2 separate regions of the Homo sapiens genome follow, and region 2 is linked to region 1. The links are contacts of gene promoters, found by promoter capture Hi-C in human tissues and cell types (Jung and others, 2019). All regions are on one chromosome and are shown on one strand. Each heading gives the region's core, a stretch centred on a gene start or on the middle of the fragment in contact. The rest is flanking DNA. Distances are from core to core; before and after follow the strand shown. Region 1 holds the start of TLE2 (TLE family member 2, transcriptional corepressor). Region 2 holds the start of DOHH (deoxyhypusine hydroxylase).

Evidence for each region. Contacts are between HindIII fragments. The study calls those that stand out against the background at their distance.
Region 2: the fragment with the promoter of DOHH here is called in contact with the fragment with the promoter of TLE2 in region 1 in 1 of the 25 tissues and cell types used here (dorsolateral prefrontal cortex).

Annotation. Positions count from the first base shown.
Region 1 is chr19:3,024,604-3,032,059 of GRCh38, forward strand. TLE2 (TLE family member 2, transcriptional corepressor) reads right to left here and starts at 4,677. Exons shown (of 20, transcript NM_003260.5): 1 at 4,278-4,677; 2 at 4,103-4,200; 3 at 3,716-3,779; 4 at 3,226-3,270; 5 at 417-479. The coding sequence starts at 4,301. The HindIII fragment of the contact is 30,131 bases long and covers 1,646-7,456 here.
Region 2 is chr19:3,495,899-3,503,354 of GRCh38, forward strand. DOHH (deoxyhypusine hydroxylase) reads right to left here and starts at 4,776. Exons shown (of 5, transcript NM_001145165.2): 1 at 4,663-4,776; 2 at 643-988. The coding sequence starts at 916. It overlaps LOC105372245 (a long non-coding RNA gene), which reads left to right and starts at 217. Exons shown (of 4, transcript XR_936262.3): 1 at 217-256; 2 at 1,053-1,145; 3 at 1,460-1,715; 4 at 4,037-5,153. RefSeq lists an enhancer at 4,778-4,887. The HindIII fragment of the contact is 49,740 bases long and covers 1-7,456 here.

The DNA.
Region 1 (7,456 bases), core at 3,427-5,926:
GTAAGCGTACCCATCATCTCCAGCACCCTGGGTGTATGAGCTCATCTCAACTTCACACCTACGCTACTGAAAAAACAGAGACAAGTGTCCTGCCTGAGGCCACACAGCCAGGATTCAGACCCAGGCAGCCAACTTGCAGGGCTTGAGGGGGTCAGCTCTATGCCTTGCTTCCCATCAAGGGGGAAAACAGCCCCCAGTCCTCACCCTCAGCCAACACCTCCCTCCATCCCTGCAGCCCCTGCCCCAGCGGGATGCCTGGCCTCAGGGCTGCGGGACTACTGCAGTGAAAATGGTCTCTATCCGTGCTGCAGGCTACGCGGCAGAATCAGTGCCTGGGGCGTCCTCGCCCAGACCTACCCCCTCCCGTCTTCTTCCGGCTCCCTTCCCCTCCTCCCCCCACCCCCAGGCCCACTCACCTCCTGGGTCAGGAAGGGGATAATCTGAGCGCAGATACCGCTCAGACGCTTCACAATCTCCGCCTGGCAGGAAGCAATGAGAGGAAGCTTGGAGCGGGGTAGAGATTTGCAACCCAGCTCTGGACTCCCAGGCGGACCAGGTGTTGGCAAAGCCGAAGGGTTGGGGAGGTGACGCCCGCAGGTGCACAGAGGGAACTCAGGCTAGCATGGCATGGGCCGAGGTGGGATTCAGAGCCCCACCAGGCTGCGTGCTCAGCTGAGCGAGGCCCAGGGTGGCCTGGAGCTGGGAAGACCAGGGCTGAGGTCCTACGAGTCACAGATACACCACCCGCCAGACGCACACCCGCCAGGGATTTGCAGGAGGCAGACGCTCAGACACCCAACTCAGACGCAGACACTCAGAGGTGCTGGGCTCAGCTGAAACAAAGGAAAGGGGCCTCCGCCTGGAGTCCCAGATTCCAGCCCCGGCTTGGCCCACGTCTGTCCCAGGCAAGGCCCCTTTCTTGGTCTCCTCCGCTTCCCAGGACTGATCTACCAGCTGGGGATGCCTCCAGGTGGAGATCTCAGCACGCCACACTCAAGGGAAGGATTTCATCTGGAGAGGGTCTGGGCCCAGGTGCCCCAAAGAGGCTGAGCAGACGAGAAGGCGTGTGGGTGGGGAAGGGGGCGGGCATACAATGGCCACGGACTTTGCCTCTGCCTGAGTTACAGGTGTGCTGTGTGTCTGGCGAAGTCTGTGTCTCCTATTCCCACCAGGAGGGTGGAACTGGGATCCCAGGGTGTCCCGCACCCCATAAAGGGGGGTCTATTGCGTGGACCCATGGGACCACGCCATGCTTCAGCAGACAAGCCCCCTCCTGCCCACATCAGAACCAACAGAACCCCCACACATGCAGGAAAGCATGCCAGGGTGGGCAACCCCAGGCACCCCACACTCCCAGCCCACCCCCTTCTCCTTCCCAGCCACCGGGAAGTCCCAATACAAGGTTCTGCTCATTGATTCTAATATTCTGATAGAATCTAGGAGCCCATGAAGCTCAGAAGTTTGGGACCCCTCTCATCCCTTTAGAAACCACTGGCCAGTCTCAGGATCTCAGGATTAAGCATGGACCACTAAAGTCAATTTTAGAATCTTTGGGTCTATTGGCCGGGCAAGGTGGCTCACTCCTGTAATCCCAGCACTTTGGGAGGCCGAGGCAGGTGGATCACCTGAGGTCAGGAGTTCAAGACCAGCCTGGCCAACATGGAGAAACCCCGTCTCTACTAAAAATACAAAATATTAGCCAGGCATGGTAGCAGGCGCCTGTAATCCCAGCTCCTCGGGAGGCTGAGGCAGGAGAGGCGCTTGCACTCAGGAGGCAGAGGTTGCAGTGAGCCAAGATCAGGTCATTGCACTCCAGCCTGGGCAACAAGAGTGAAACTTTGTCTCAAAATTTAAAAAAAAAAAAAAAAAAAAAAAATCTTTAGGTCTATCTCAGAACCTTGAGATCAGAAGTTCGGGAATAGCCTCAGAACCTTTTAACACATCTCAGCACATAGATATGATAATCGCAGAACCCTGAGGTCTATCTCTGAACCCTGAGGTCAATCTCAGAACCCTGAGGTCTATCTCTGAACCCTGTCTATCTCAGAACCCTGAGGTCTATCTCTGAACCCTGATGTCTATCTCAGAACCCTGAGGTCTATCTCTGAACCTTGAGATCACAAGTTCAGGAACACCTCAGAACCTTTTAACACATCTCAGTACACAGATAGGACAATCTCAGAACCCTGAGGTTTATCTCTGACCCTTGAGGTCTATCTCTGAACCCTGAGGTCTATCTCAGAACCTTGAGGTCTATCTCAGAACTCTGAGGTCTATCTCTGACCCTTGAGGTCTATCTCTGAACCCTGAGGTCTATCTCAGGACCTTGAGGTCTATCTCAGAACCCTGAGGTCAATTTCAGAAATTTGAGGTCTATCTCAGAACCCTGAGGTCAATCTCAGAGCCCTGAGGTCTATCTCAGAACCTTGAGGTCTATCTCAGAAAACTGAGGTCAATCTCAGAACCGTGAGGTCTATCTCAGAACACTGAGGTCAATCTCAGAACCCTGAGGTCTATCTCTGAACCTTGAGGTCAATCTCAGAACCCTGAGGTCTATTTCAGAACCCTGAAGTCTGTCTCAGAACCTTGGATCACACTGAGAAGCTCCAGAAGAGGCTCAGAGCCTTACGACACTGGAGTCAATCTCAAAGCCCTGAAGACAGCCACAGAGTTTTGAGGTCTATTTTGGAGTAGTGGGGTCACAGTCTGAACCATGGCATCAAATTCAGGGCCTGGAGAACAATCTTGGAACCTTCCAGCCAATCACACTGAGACCAATCTCAGAAGCTTCAAAGCAGCAACAGAACCTGGGGTCCATCTCAAAACTTCAGACTTTCTGGGTTGAAAGGGACCTCTAAGAGTGGCCATCCAGCTCCCTCCTAGGACAGAAGTCACTTCCACAGCCTCCCTGGCCTGGCTGCCCTGCCTCTGCTATGTGCCCTCCTTGATGGGGATGCCTGGTGGCCCCTGCCCACTGCCTGCATCTCTGCTGGACGCTCCAACTGCTAGATACTGTCTTCAGAAGGTGGGACTCATTTTCCTTCCACGAGGCTGAAATCTGTCTTCCTGGTCCCAGATGGGCCCTCTGTGACCTCTGCGGAGATTTCAGGATGAGACCCGTGTTCCCTAGGTCTGCTCTGGCCCCGGCTGCCCACTCTGGGTCCTTCTCAGGGCTTCCAGACCCCCACCCTCCCTCCTGAACACGCGTAACCCCAACCCAGTTACCTGCTTATGCATTTCAATGTTGAGCCCGTACGACATCTCATAATACTGCAAAGGAAAAACCAAGTAAGAACGTCTAGGGTGGAGATGGGTGCCCTCCTCCAGATAGGTGATGCCAGGGTCTTCCAAGAGTCCCCAGGTTCAGGGGAATCACAGCAGGAAGCAGAGCCCCCCCCAGCTCCACGGGGTCCCAGAGGAGGAAGCGGGGGCTCTGCCTGGAAGGGCCCCCTCTACTCTCCCCAGAGAGGCAGGGCAGGTAGGAAGTGTCCAGAGGCCCTGGCCCGACAGAGACTCCCATCAGGCGAGGGGTCCTCCCTGTCTCCCCATTCCCAGAGCTGGGAGGACCCTCCTAGAGAGCCTGAAATCCCAACCTGCCCAATGTACAGACGGGGAAGACGAGGTTCGGAGTGGGGCAGGGACCTACCCCAGAGTCCACCGTGACTCAAAGCCCTGCCCGCCTCTCCCCTCACCCTGGCATCATAAGTGCCCTCACCATGACATAATGTCGCTGCATTTCCGTCTTCTCGCTGGCCAGCTTCTCACATTCTAGCTTGAGGCTGAGAAGAAGAGAGAGGGCAAGGGGCTCCCACCCGCCCCATGTGGGCCGGCTTCCAAAGTGAGAGGCTGGATCTCCCCCTCCCGACTTCCTTACAGACCTCCCCCCACCTCCTGTCCCAGTCCCTCCCCGCCCCTTCCTGGGCTCCAAATGCCCCAGCTCTGACTGTCCCCAGACCCCTCTGCACCTGCGCTTCCACCTGGAGGCCTTTGTCGCGCCCCCCCTCCAACCGGGAGCCCCTCCTCCCCGCCCTATACCCCGGAGGCCTCGCCCCGCCCCGGCGCCCAGGTGAACTCCCGCGGCCCCTGGGGCGGCCCCCCTCACCTGTGGTATTGAGCCTGAAGAAACTGGAATTCTTCTTTGATGCGGTCGCAGATCTCCAAGATCGAGAACTTGAAGGGCTGGCCGGACTGGAGCGGGGTCTGGGGGGGGTGTGGGGGAAACGTCAGGGTCTGAGTTCCCGGACACTGGGGGCCCCCTCCCCGCAGTCCGCACTCACCGGGTGCCTTCCCTGGGGGTACATCCTGCCGATCCGAAAAGCCCCCCAGGCGCCACCAGAGCTTGATGATATGGAGGCGGCAAGAGTGGGGGAGGCTGAAGTGGGGTGGTGGGGAGGCTGCCCGAAGAAAGAGGGAGGAGGGAGAAGCGGCGCGGGGCAAGGGACCCTGGAGTCCCTGGCGCGCCCCCAAGCGCGCGCGCCCGGGGTCGTGGGAGCCCCTCCCCGGGTTGGGGTGCGCGGGGCGAGCGGGGCGGGCAGGGGCAGCGGCCGGGGCGGGAGCGCGGCGAGGGCGGCCGCGGCAGCCGGCGCAGAAGGTCGGGCGCGCCGCGGCCGGGTTTCGGTGGCGGCGGCGCGGGCGGCGGGCCCCGCGCGGAGCCGCCTCCCTCCGGCGGGGCTCGGCCGGGAGCCGCGGGCTGAGCCGCCTTAAGGTGGCGCCGCCGCCCCCACGCGCCCGCGGCCCGCCCCGCGCCCACCCCCGCGCACCGCCCCTCCCCGCGCCCGCGCCCCCCCCGGCCCCCGGGCACCCGCCCCCTTCCTTCAGTCCCTGGGCCGTTGGGGAAACTGAGGCCGGGTGGGGAGGCGCCCAGTGCCTTAAAACAGGGTCCCCACCCCCTCCCGGAGGGGCGGGAGAAGAAAAACCAGTGAAGAAATTCACACCGTGTTACCCACCGTGGGAGCGGGGGGGGGGGCTTGCGGGGAGCGGGGACCAGTCTGGAGTCGGAAATGGCTTTTCTGAGCAAGTGACATTGGGTTGAGATTGAAGGGTCAGCAGGACGCAGCCTTGCCAAGCGCTGGCAGGGAACCCTGCCAGAAAGGGAATCTCACAGCAAACACTGCTTCCCAGATCATGCCGGGCCCTCGCCCTCTGGGGGCCTCAGTAGTCTCTGCAAAAGGTCAGGGGTGGTGCGCTATCTTTAGGGTTTAATTTTTTGCAGAGATAGGGTCTCCCTGTGTTGCCCAGGCTGGAGTACAGTGGGGCAATCATGGCTCACTGCAGCCTCGAACTCCTGGGCTCAAGCGATCCTTCCCCCTCAGCTTCTCCAGTAGCTGGGACTACAGGTGTGCACCACCACGCCCAGCTAATTTTTTAATTTTTTGCAGAGATGGAGTAGGGGGGCGTCTCACTATGTTGCCCAGGCTGGTCTTGAACTCCTGGACTCAAGCCTCTCTCTTCGGCCTTCCAAAGTGCTGGGATTACGGGCGGGAGCCACCGCACTGGGCACTGCACTTAAATGAGATAGTGCATGAACGCTGTCAGCCTCTCCCTACACAGAGCAAACTTCCACAGATGGGAATTGTGTTCCTACTGCCATCACCAGTGGACTGGGCTGTCTCCCCTCTCAGACTGGGTTTCTTGAAGGCAGGAGCCGTGTCCCACTCAGAACTGGAAGAACCACAGCTCTGCCATCAGACTCAAGTCTCTCCCACGGCAAAGGCTCCAGCCCCGACCAGAGACCACAGACATCCAGCCAGCATCCTTCAGGCCCACCCGGGGAGTGGGAAGTTCTTATTCTCTTTGGAGAAACCTCAGGAGAGGTTTGTGAAGTCAATCAACAAACGTGTACTAAATGCATACTGTGGACCACACACTGCTGTAGACACTGGGGCACAGCTGGGAACAAAACAGAGAAAAATCCATGCCCCTTGATGACACTTGGACTTGTGTCCTTAGGTGATCGAGTACCTAATGGTACCTAAGGGTTAGGGTTACAAAAACCCATTTTGTACCCTTACAAAAGGGCACAAGAGCCCTTATCAATGGGCCAGGGGTGGTGGGTCATGCCTGTAGCTCCAGCACTTTGGGAAGCTGAGGAGGGAGGATCGCTTGAGCCCAGGAGTTCAAGACCAGTGTGGACAACACCGCGACAATACAAAAAAACATTTTTGTGTTTTTTGTATCTCTACAAAAAATACAAAAATAATTAGCCAGGCATGGTGATGCACACCTGTGGTCCCGGCTACTTGGGGGGCTGAGGCGGGAGATACCTGAGCCCCAGAAGGTCAAGGCTGCACTGAGTTGAGATCACATCACTGCACTCCAGCCTGGGTGACAGAGCAGGACCTTGTCTCAAAAAAAAAAAAAAAAAGCCCTTATCAAATTTAAAGCCATCGTTTTCCAGCCCACAGATATTTACAGAGCACCTATGACGTGTCAGGCATCCTTCCAGGCACAGGGATTGTAAGGGTGGATAAGGGAGACAGATCCCTGCCCTCTCTGAGTTTGTGGGATGTGAGTGACAGGCTAGGCAGGTTCACAGCTTGGTAATTATGGGACTATTTGTACAGACAGAGGAAGAGTTTAGAGGGCAGTGATAGAGATGAACAAAAGCAAACCTGCTTATGTGGGGTGTCTGGGAGAGGACCCTTGGGGGAGGGTAGCCTTGGAGATGAGACCTGAACGATGAGGTTGGGCAGCTCTGGGAAGGGAGGAAAAGAGACACAGCCTGGGATAAAGATACAATTGTGTGTGTGTGTGTGTGTGTGTGTGTGTGTGTGTGTGTGTGTGTAGTACTCACTAGCTCCCTATTGCCCTCAAAATAAATCCAAACTCATCTCTCTTCCCACAAGGCTCTTCACAAAACTCTTCCCCTTTTCCCCTTCACCATCTCTTTATGTTTTGTTTATTGTTTATAGAGACAAGGTCTCACTGTGTTGCCCAGGCTGGTCTTGCATTCCTGGGCTCAATCGATCCTCCCACCTCGGCCTCCCAAAGCACTGAGATTACAGGCATGAGCCACTGCACCCGGCCAGCCAGCTTCATGATCTCAACTCCGGTCATTTTCGCCCTCACTCACTCTGCCCAAGTCACACTGGCCTCACACCAGGCACAGTCCAGCCTCAGGGCCATTGCACTTTCTGTTCCCTGTACCTGGAATGCTTTTCCCTTGCTTCTTATCATTCAAGTCTCAGCTCAAAAGCTACCTCCTCAGAACGGCCCCTCCTAGCCACCCATTTCAACAGCTTCTGCCCACCCCGTTATTTTCACACTCTCCATCCTATTCTCCCTCTCTTCCCAGCTCCTACCATAGTGTGTGGCTTTTTGTTTGTTTTTGTTTTTGTTTTTTGAGACGGAGTCTTGCTCTGCTGCCCAGGCTGGAGTGCAGTGGCGCGATCTCGGCTCACTGCTGCAACCTATGCCTCCCGGGTTCAAGCGATTCTCCTGCCTCGGCCTCTGGAGT
Region 2 (7,456 bases), core at 3,526-6,025, 470 kb after region 1:
ACTCTGACTCAAAACAAACAAATAAATGGTTTAAAACAAAAAATCAAAGGGATAGTACTTCCTGATGGGTGGAATTTATATGAAATTCAAATCTCAGCATTTACAAATGAAGTTTGTTTTTTGTTTTTTCACAGACAGGATCTCACTCTGTTGCCCAGGCTGGAGTGCGGTGGCACGATCATGGCTCACTGCAACCTTGACTTCCCGGGCTCCAGCGATTCTCCCGCCTCAGCCTCCCAAGTGGCTGCGACTACAGGTGCATGCCACCATGCCTGGCTAATTTTTGTATTTTTTCTAGAGACAGGGTTTTGCCATGTTGCCCAGGATGGTCTTGAACTCCTGAGTTCAAACGATCCACCTTCCTGGGCCTCCCAAAGTGCTAAGATTACAGGCCTGAGCCACCGCCCCCTGCCCAGTTGAGGTTGTCTGGGCACACAGCCTTAGCCATTTGGTGACAGATGACCTGCGCTGGCTTTATTGAGTCGCTGTCTGGCTGCAGAGCTGCAGGTATTTACTATCTGGTGCTCTATGGGGCAGTTGACCACTCTGATATTTATCACCTGAGTGAGGAAGGGGACACGTGGGGTCATGAAGAAGTGAGGCAGGAGGGAGCAGGTGCCCGGGACACAGACAGGTGCTCACCTGCCTCATGGCGCACCATGGGCTCCTGACGGGTGTCTTGCAGCACGTCCACCAGCATGGGGATGGCGCGGGCATCCTGCATCTGGCCCAGGCAGTAGGCCAGCTCGTGCTTGAGCAGGGCGGAATCGTCATCGAAGGCCTGGCTGATCCATGCAATGGCGCCTGGGCCGCCGAGCCCACGCAGCGTGAACAGCGCCCGGAAGCGGGCCTGCAGGGGCTGCTTGGGGTCCACCAGCGTCTGCCCGATGGCATCCACCTCCTGCTCCGTCACCATCGTGCTGTCAATGGGTCCCGGCCTTCCACAACCCTGCTCAGGCTAAACCTGGGGACGCGGGGATGTAAGAACCTGTGGCAGAAAAATGAGAGCCCAGGTTAGAAGCCCCCTTCACCAGTGCGTTGTCTGTTCCTAGGACCTGGGTGGGGCAAATTCCTACCCACTGACCAACCTGAGCATCTACGCTGAAAGCTCAGCTCCAACCTCCCTACTAGCTGTGCAGCCTTCCGTAAGTTGCTTTCCCTCTCTGGGCCTCAGTCTCTGCACTGCCTCTCGCCTATAGGCCTATCAGAAATGACCTCCACTGTCTGCTCTCCACACAGCAGCCAGAGGGACAGCTGACCCCCAAAATGGCCCTAGCGATCCCCACCCAATATTCAAGGCTTTATATAGCGATCCCCACCCAATATTCAAGGCTTTATATAGTCCTCTCCCACTCTGAACAGGGCTGACCCATGTGAATGCCAAGAAGATGGAACAGAGCAAGACTTCCAAGGTTAGGGCATAAAAAGCACAACAGTCTCATCCTTGTTCTCTCTCTAGGGGAAGCCAGTGACCATGTTGTGAGGATGCTCAAGCAGTCTTTTGTAGGGGCCCACGTGGCAAAAAACTGAGCCCTCCCACCAACAGCCATGTGAGAGAAGTGGGCTGGCAGCAGCTCGTCCAGCCCCAAGCGAACCTTCAGATGATGCAGCCCCAGAGCGTCTCCACTGAGGCCTTACCAGAGGCCAGACCCAGAGCCAGCCAGCTAAGCCAGGCCCAGAGCAACTGTGTGCGACACTGTTTACTGTTGTTGAAGGTAACCAAGTATGTTTTTTTGTTTGTTTTTGAGACAGGATCTTGTTCTGTCGCCAGGCTGGAGTACGGCAGCATGATCACGGCTCACTGTAGCCTCGAACTCCCAGTCTCAAGTGATCCTCCTGCCTCAGACTTCCTAGTGGCTGTGTCTACAGGCACACACCAGCATGCCCAGCTAATTTTTTTTTTATTATTTGTAGAGATGGGGTCTCACTTCTATGTTGCCCAGGCTGGTCTCCAACTCCCAAGCTCAAGTGATCATCCTGCCTCAGCCTCCCAAAGCATTAGGATTACAGGCATCAGCCACTACCCCCAGCCATTATGGGGATTTTTGTTACACAGCTTAGATAACAGATTCAGAAGTACTTTCAATATGTAAACTGGACCATATCACTCCCTTGCTTAAAATCCTCCTATGCCTCCTCACTCAACTACTTGACAGTCCCAAAGGCCCTTCATGACCATCTCCCATCACCTCTTCCCTCTCTAGCTCCACTCCAGCCACACAGGCCTCCTCGCTGTTCCTCCAACACGCCAGGCCCAGTGCAGCCCTAGGGCCTTTGCATTTGCTGTGATCTCCATGAGGAACATTCTTCCCTAGATGTCCCCACGTAGCAGGCCAGGCCTCACTAACACAGGCCTCCATAACTGTTTCAGCACTGACTGAGTGGTTAAGTTAAACATTAAAAGCTAAAAGAGCCAGTGCCCTCATACAAAGGCTGGAATGTAACAAAAGCCCATGAAGAGTTTTGCCCAGGCCTTTCCTGGGCCTTAAGGCATGACAAGATAATGAAGGAATTTTTTTTTTTTTGAGACAGAGTTTCGCTCTTTTGCCCAGGCTGGAGTGTAGTGGCATTATCTCGGCTCACCACAACCTATGCTTCCAGGGTTCAAGTGATTCTCCTGCCTCAGCCTCCCGAGTATCTGGGATTATAGGCATGCACCACCATGCCCGGCTAATTTTGTATTTTTAGTAGAGACAGGGTTTCTCCATGTTGGTCAGGCTGGTCTCGAACTCCCAACCTCAGGTGATCCACCCGCCTCAGCCTCCCAAACTGCTGGAATTACAGGCTTGAGCCACCACACCCAGCCAATAACGAAGGAATTCTTAATGTGACCCGTTTAGGATGAAACAAGTTTTACTGGGTGTCTGAAGAACTCCCCAAACCTCCATGATTTAGCAGGAGACAAGATAAGGATGATCACCCCAGCACCTGGACCCACTGGAGATGAGATAAGGGTGATCACCCCAGCACCTGGACCCATTTAGATTAAGTAAATTTACTGAGGTTCCAAAGGAAAGTCTTCAGGATTCAGATCTTAGTTATAGATTAAAAGAAGTTAGTCACTTTAAGTCTTTAGATGGATGCTCAGTTACATGTAGATGGAGAGCTTAGAGGGTATATAAGCTCTGGAAAACTTTGTCATTTTGAGTTGGTCTGGCGATATTTTCCAGGCCTTCTCCCTGTAACCGGTTACAGAAATAAAAACTCTCTTCCTCCCCAGTTAATCTGCATCTCGTTATTGGACCATGAGAAATAGCAGCCCGACCCTCAGTTTGGTCCAGGAACACCCGTGCTCATCCTCTTGCTTTCCTGGGTCTCCAACATCACTTCCTCATGGAAGCCTTCCCTGATCACAATGGACAATGTTACTCTTCCATCTCTTTTCACTTATTCAGCTTTATTTTTCTCCACGGCGCCTAAGACTCCTAGATATCATATTGGAAAGTATTGGTTTAGTTGCTTGTGATTGGTCTTATCCCTCATTAGAATAGAACTCTGAAGGCTGGGACTGAGTCTATCTTGGTCACTGTTGTATTCCCAGCACTTAGTGCAATGACCTGCACGCAGTAGGGCCTCAATAAAAACAATAACCGGCTGGGCGCGGTGGCTCACGCCTGTAATCCCAGCGCTTTGGGAGGCCGAGGTGGACAGACCATCTGAGTTCAGGAGTTCGAGACCAGCTGACCAACATGGTGAAACCCCATCTCTACTAAAAATACAAAAATTAGCTGGGCGTGGTGGTGGGCGCCTGTAATCCCAGCTACTCGGGAGGCTGAGGTAGGAGAATCGCCTGAACTCGAGAGGCGGAGGTTGCAGTGAGCCGAGATCGTGCCATTGCATTCCAGACTGAGCTACAAAGCAAGACCCTGTCTCAAAATAAATAAATAAAATAAAAACGACAACCGTGACAATAGCAGCTGACACTTATGTAGCATTTGCTACGCGCCAGGCACTCCATGCTCTTTACATTCATTAATTCATTCGATCTACATCACTACCCTGTGAGGTAGTTACTAAGATTGTCCCCATTTTACAGGTGAGGAAACTGAGGCACAGTTTGGGACTGTGCTTGGGAACTTGCTTGGGAGCAGCGTGAAGAGTTAGGAATCCAGGAAGTCTGGCTCCAGAGTCGGGCTCTAAACCACCAACGCTTTGTTGAATGACTTAGGATAAAAGAACACAGCCAAGGGGAGAAGGGACCCCTCTCTTTCCAGATCGGCTGAGAACCTGGCGGATGCTTCATCTCAAGACAGGCTGGCTATGGCATGCTGGCAGCCCTCTCTGGTGAACAGTGGCGTCAGCAAGGCTGCCTGGGCTTGACGAGGGCAGTGTAGCCACCTAAGCACAGGTGACCATCAAAGGAGAGTGACACCTTTAAAGAGGGGTCATCAGAAACCAGAGGGCAGGCCTGTGCGAGCTGGCAGGGCACTGGGGACCATTGAGACCCAACCGTACGACATAGGAGCTTCAGGACGTGAGGTGGGCACTCTTTCATGTAAAAAATCCCAGAGGAAAGAGATCGCCGGGACTCGAGACCCCTTAACCCGCCCCATCCACAGTCAACGAATCCCTGAGACCGGATTCCCTAACGAGGCGCTCCCGGTGCCACCGCCCGCCAGACCCGGGCCCCACACCGTGATCGCCGCCTCCGGGACGCCTCACCGAGCTCTGGAGACTCAGGACCCGTCGGCCCGGCCAGTAACCGCAGGCGCCTCTGCCACCACCGCTTCACCTGCCGCGACGCCCGCAGTGCGGTCTGGGGGCCGCCATTTTCTCGCCCACGTGACCGTGCCGGACGGCACCAACGCAGCCGCGGGTGAGACCTAGTGAGAGGCTCCGTGCATGAGGGAGGCCCGGAAGGCTGAGTCGGTGCTGGTGCCACAGCTCATGCAAACGCAGGAACAGTATTCCTAGTGCGTTCTTCGGGGAAGGGGACGGGCAACGTATGCCCTTTCATGGGAAAAAATTCTCTCCAACCTCCCCACTGCGGTACAAGAAGTGAGACTGGTTTGTGCCGATTCAGCGCCCTGCCTGGGCTGGCTAGCAACGGAGCATGCGCAGTGTTTCTAGGCGTGGTCAGACTCCAGAGGTGTTGGCCAATGGGCTCAGGGAGCTCGAACCTTAAGTAGGTGAGGAATAAAAAAAGGAAGAAATGCAGTCGTTCATTCATTCATGTATGTAATAAATAGTACATGGCCTTGAGGACAAGAGAGCCTTCAGCCCTTACCCTCGTACGCCTCCCAGTGTTGTTATAGAGACAGAAAATAACACGATAAGTAAATGCAATACCTATTAGATGGTGAAAAAGGCTAACGAGAAAAAATTCGGTAGCCAAGGGCGGTGTATGTATAGGGTGTGCAGTTTCAGGAAGGGTGGCCAGAATCTGAGGTGGTGACATCTGAAGAAAGACCTGAAAGAGGCCGGGTACGGTGGCTCACACCGGTAATCCCAACACTTTGGGAGGCCGAGGTGGGTGTTATCACTTGAGGTCAGGAGTTCGAGACCAGCCTGGCCAACATGGTGAAACCCCCATCTCTACTAAAAATACAAAAAGGCTTCAGCTTCCCGAGTAGCTGGGATTACAGGCATGCAACACCACACCAGCTAACTTTTTGTATTTTTAGTAGAGACAGGGTTTCACTATGTTGGCCAGGCTGGTCTCAAACTCCTGACCTCAGGTGATCCACCTGCCTTGGCCTCCCAAAGTGCTGGGATTACAGGCGTGAGCTACTGTGCCCTGCTTGCAATCTCTTATTTTTAAAATGTGGGTGACTGCCAGGAGTGGTGGCTCATACCTGTAATCCTGGCACTTTGGGAGGCTGTGGGGTGAGAGGATGATCGATTGAGCCCAAGATTCCAAGACCAGCCTGGGCAATGTGGTAAGCCCCCGTCTCAACAGAAAAAAAATTTTTTTTAATTTGGCTGGGCGCAGTGGCTCAGCCTGTAATCCCAGCTACTTGGGTGGCTGAGGCAGGAGAATCGCTTGAGCCTGGGAGACACAGGTTACAGTGAGTTGAGATCCTGTCACTGCACTCCAGCCTGGGCAACAGAGCAAGACTCCATTTCCAAAAAAAAAAAAAAAAAATCAACTGTGCCTGGTGGCTCATGCCTGTAGGCCCAGCTACTCAGGTGGCTTGATAGCTTGAGTCCAGGAGTTCAAGGATCCAGTGAGCTGTAATCACACCACTGGATTCCAGCCTGGGTGACAGAGCAAGACCCCATCTCAAAAAAAAAAAAAAAATGAGCAATTAATAAAAAAACATGGCTGGGCATTGTAGCTCACGCCTGTAATTCCAGCACTTTGGGAGGCCAAGGCAGGTGGATCACTTGTGGTCAGGAGTTCAAGACCAGCATGGCCAACATGCTGAAACCCCATCTCTACTAAAAATACTAAAATTAGCTTGGCCTAGTGGCGGGTGCCTGTAATTCCAGCTACTCAGGAGTCTGAGGCAGGAGCATCACTTGAACCCAGGAGACGGAAGTTGCAGTGAGCCAAGATCGCGTCACTGCACTCCAGCTTGGGTGACAGAGTGAGACTCCATCTCAAAAAAATAATTAAATAAAAATTAATGAAAAAACATAAAATGCTGTGCATAGCAAAGAAATCCTTTTGGAAGGCCAACTTCTATTTTAAGACAACATTCACAAATACTTATTGAGCAACTACTGTGTGCTGGACAGTGTCCTGAGCACAGAGGATAGTGTCCTGGGCACAGAGGACACAGGACAAAACAGACACAGTGTCTGGCCTCATGGAGCTGACACCCCCACTTTTATTTTTTTGAGACAGAGTCTCGCTCTGTCACCCAGGCTGGAGTGCAATGGGGCGATCTCAGCTCACTGCAAGCTCCGCCTCCTGGGTTCACGCCATTCTCCTGCCTCAGCCTCCCAAGTAGCTGGGACGACAGGTGCCCACCACCAAGCCCAGCTAATTTTTTTGTATTTTTAGTAGAGACGGGGTTTCACCGTGTTAGCCAGGATGGTCTCGATCTCCTGACCTCGTGATCCGCCCGCCTCGGCCTCCCAAAGTGCTGGGATTACAGGCGTGAGCCACCGTGCACGGCCCACCCCCCCTTTTTTTTTTTAAATTATTGTATTGCCTTCCTATGTGTTGGAAAACTGACTGCAGATAACAGGCATCACTGCAGCCCTCAGCTGCCTTGCGAGGACGTCATCTCAACATGTTTGTGGCTCAGGCTGTTTACGGAGGACTTCCCGTGGACCAGGAGCTGTGCTGACTCAGGAAGGCTACGAGGGCAGGGTGCCAGGTGTGACTGGCCCCAAGGATGCTCCCCAGGAGGAGATAATCCCAGGGTGCAGGACGCAGATATCGAAGCCTCAGCCAAAAGCAAGGCCTGTGTAAGTCAGAGAACTTGGCATCTGGCCTCTGTAGACCTTCGAGAAACTGATAGCACAGAAGAACCAAGTCTGCGTCTTCTGTTCGGTGGGTCCTCTG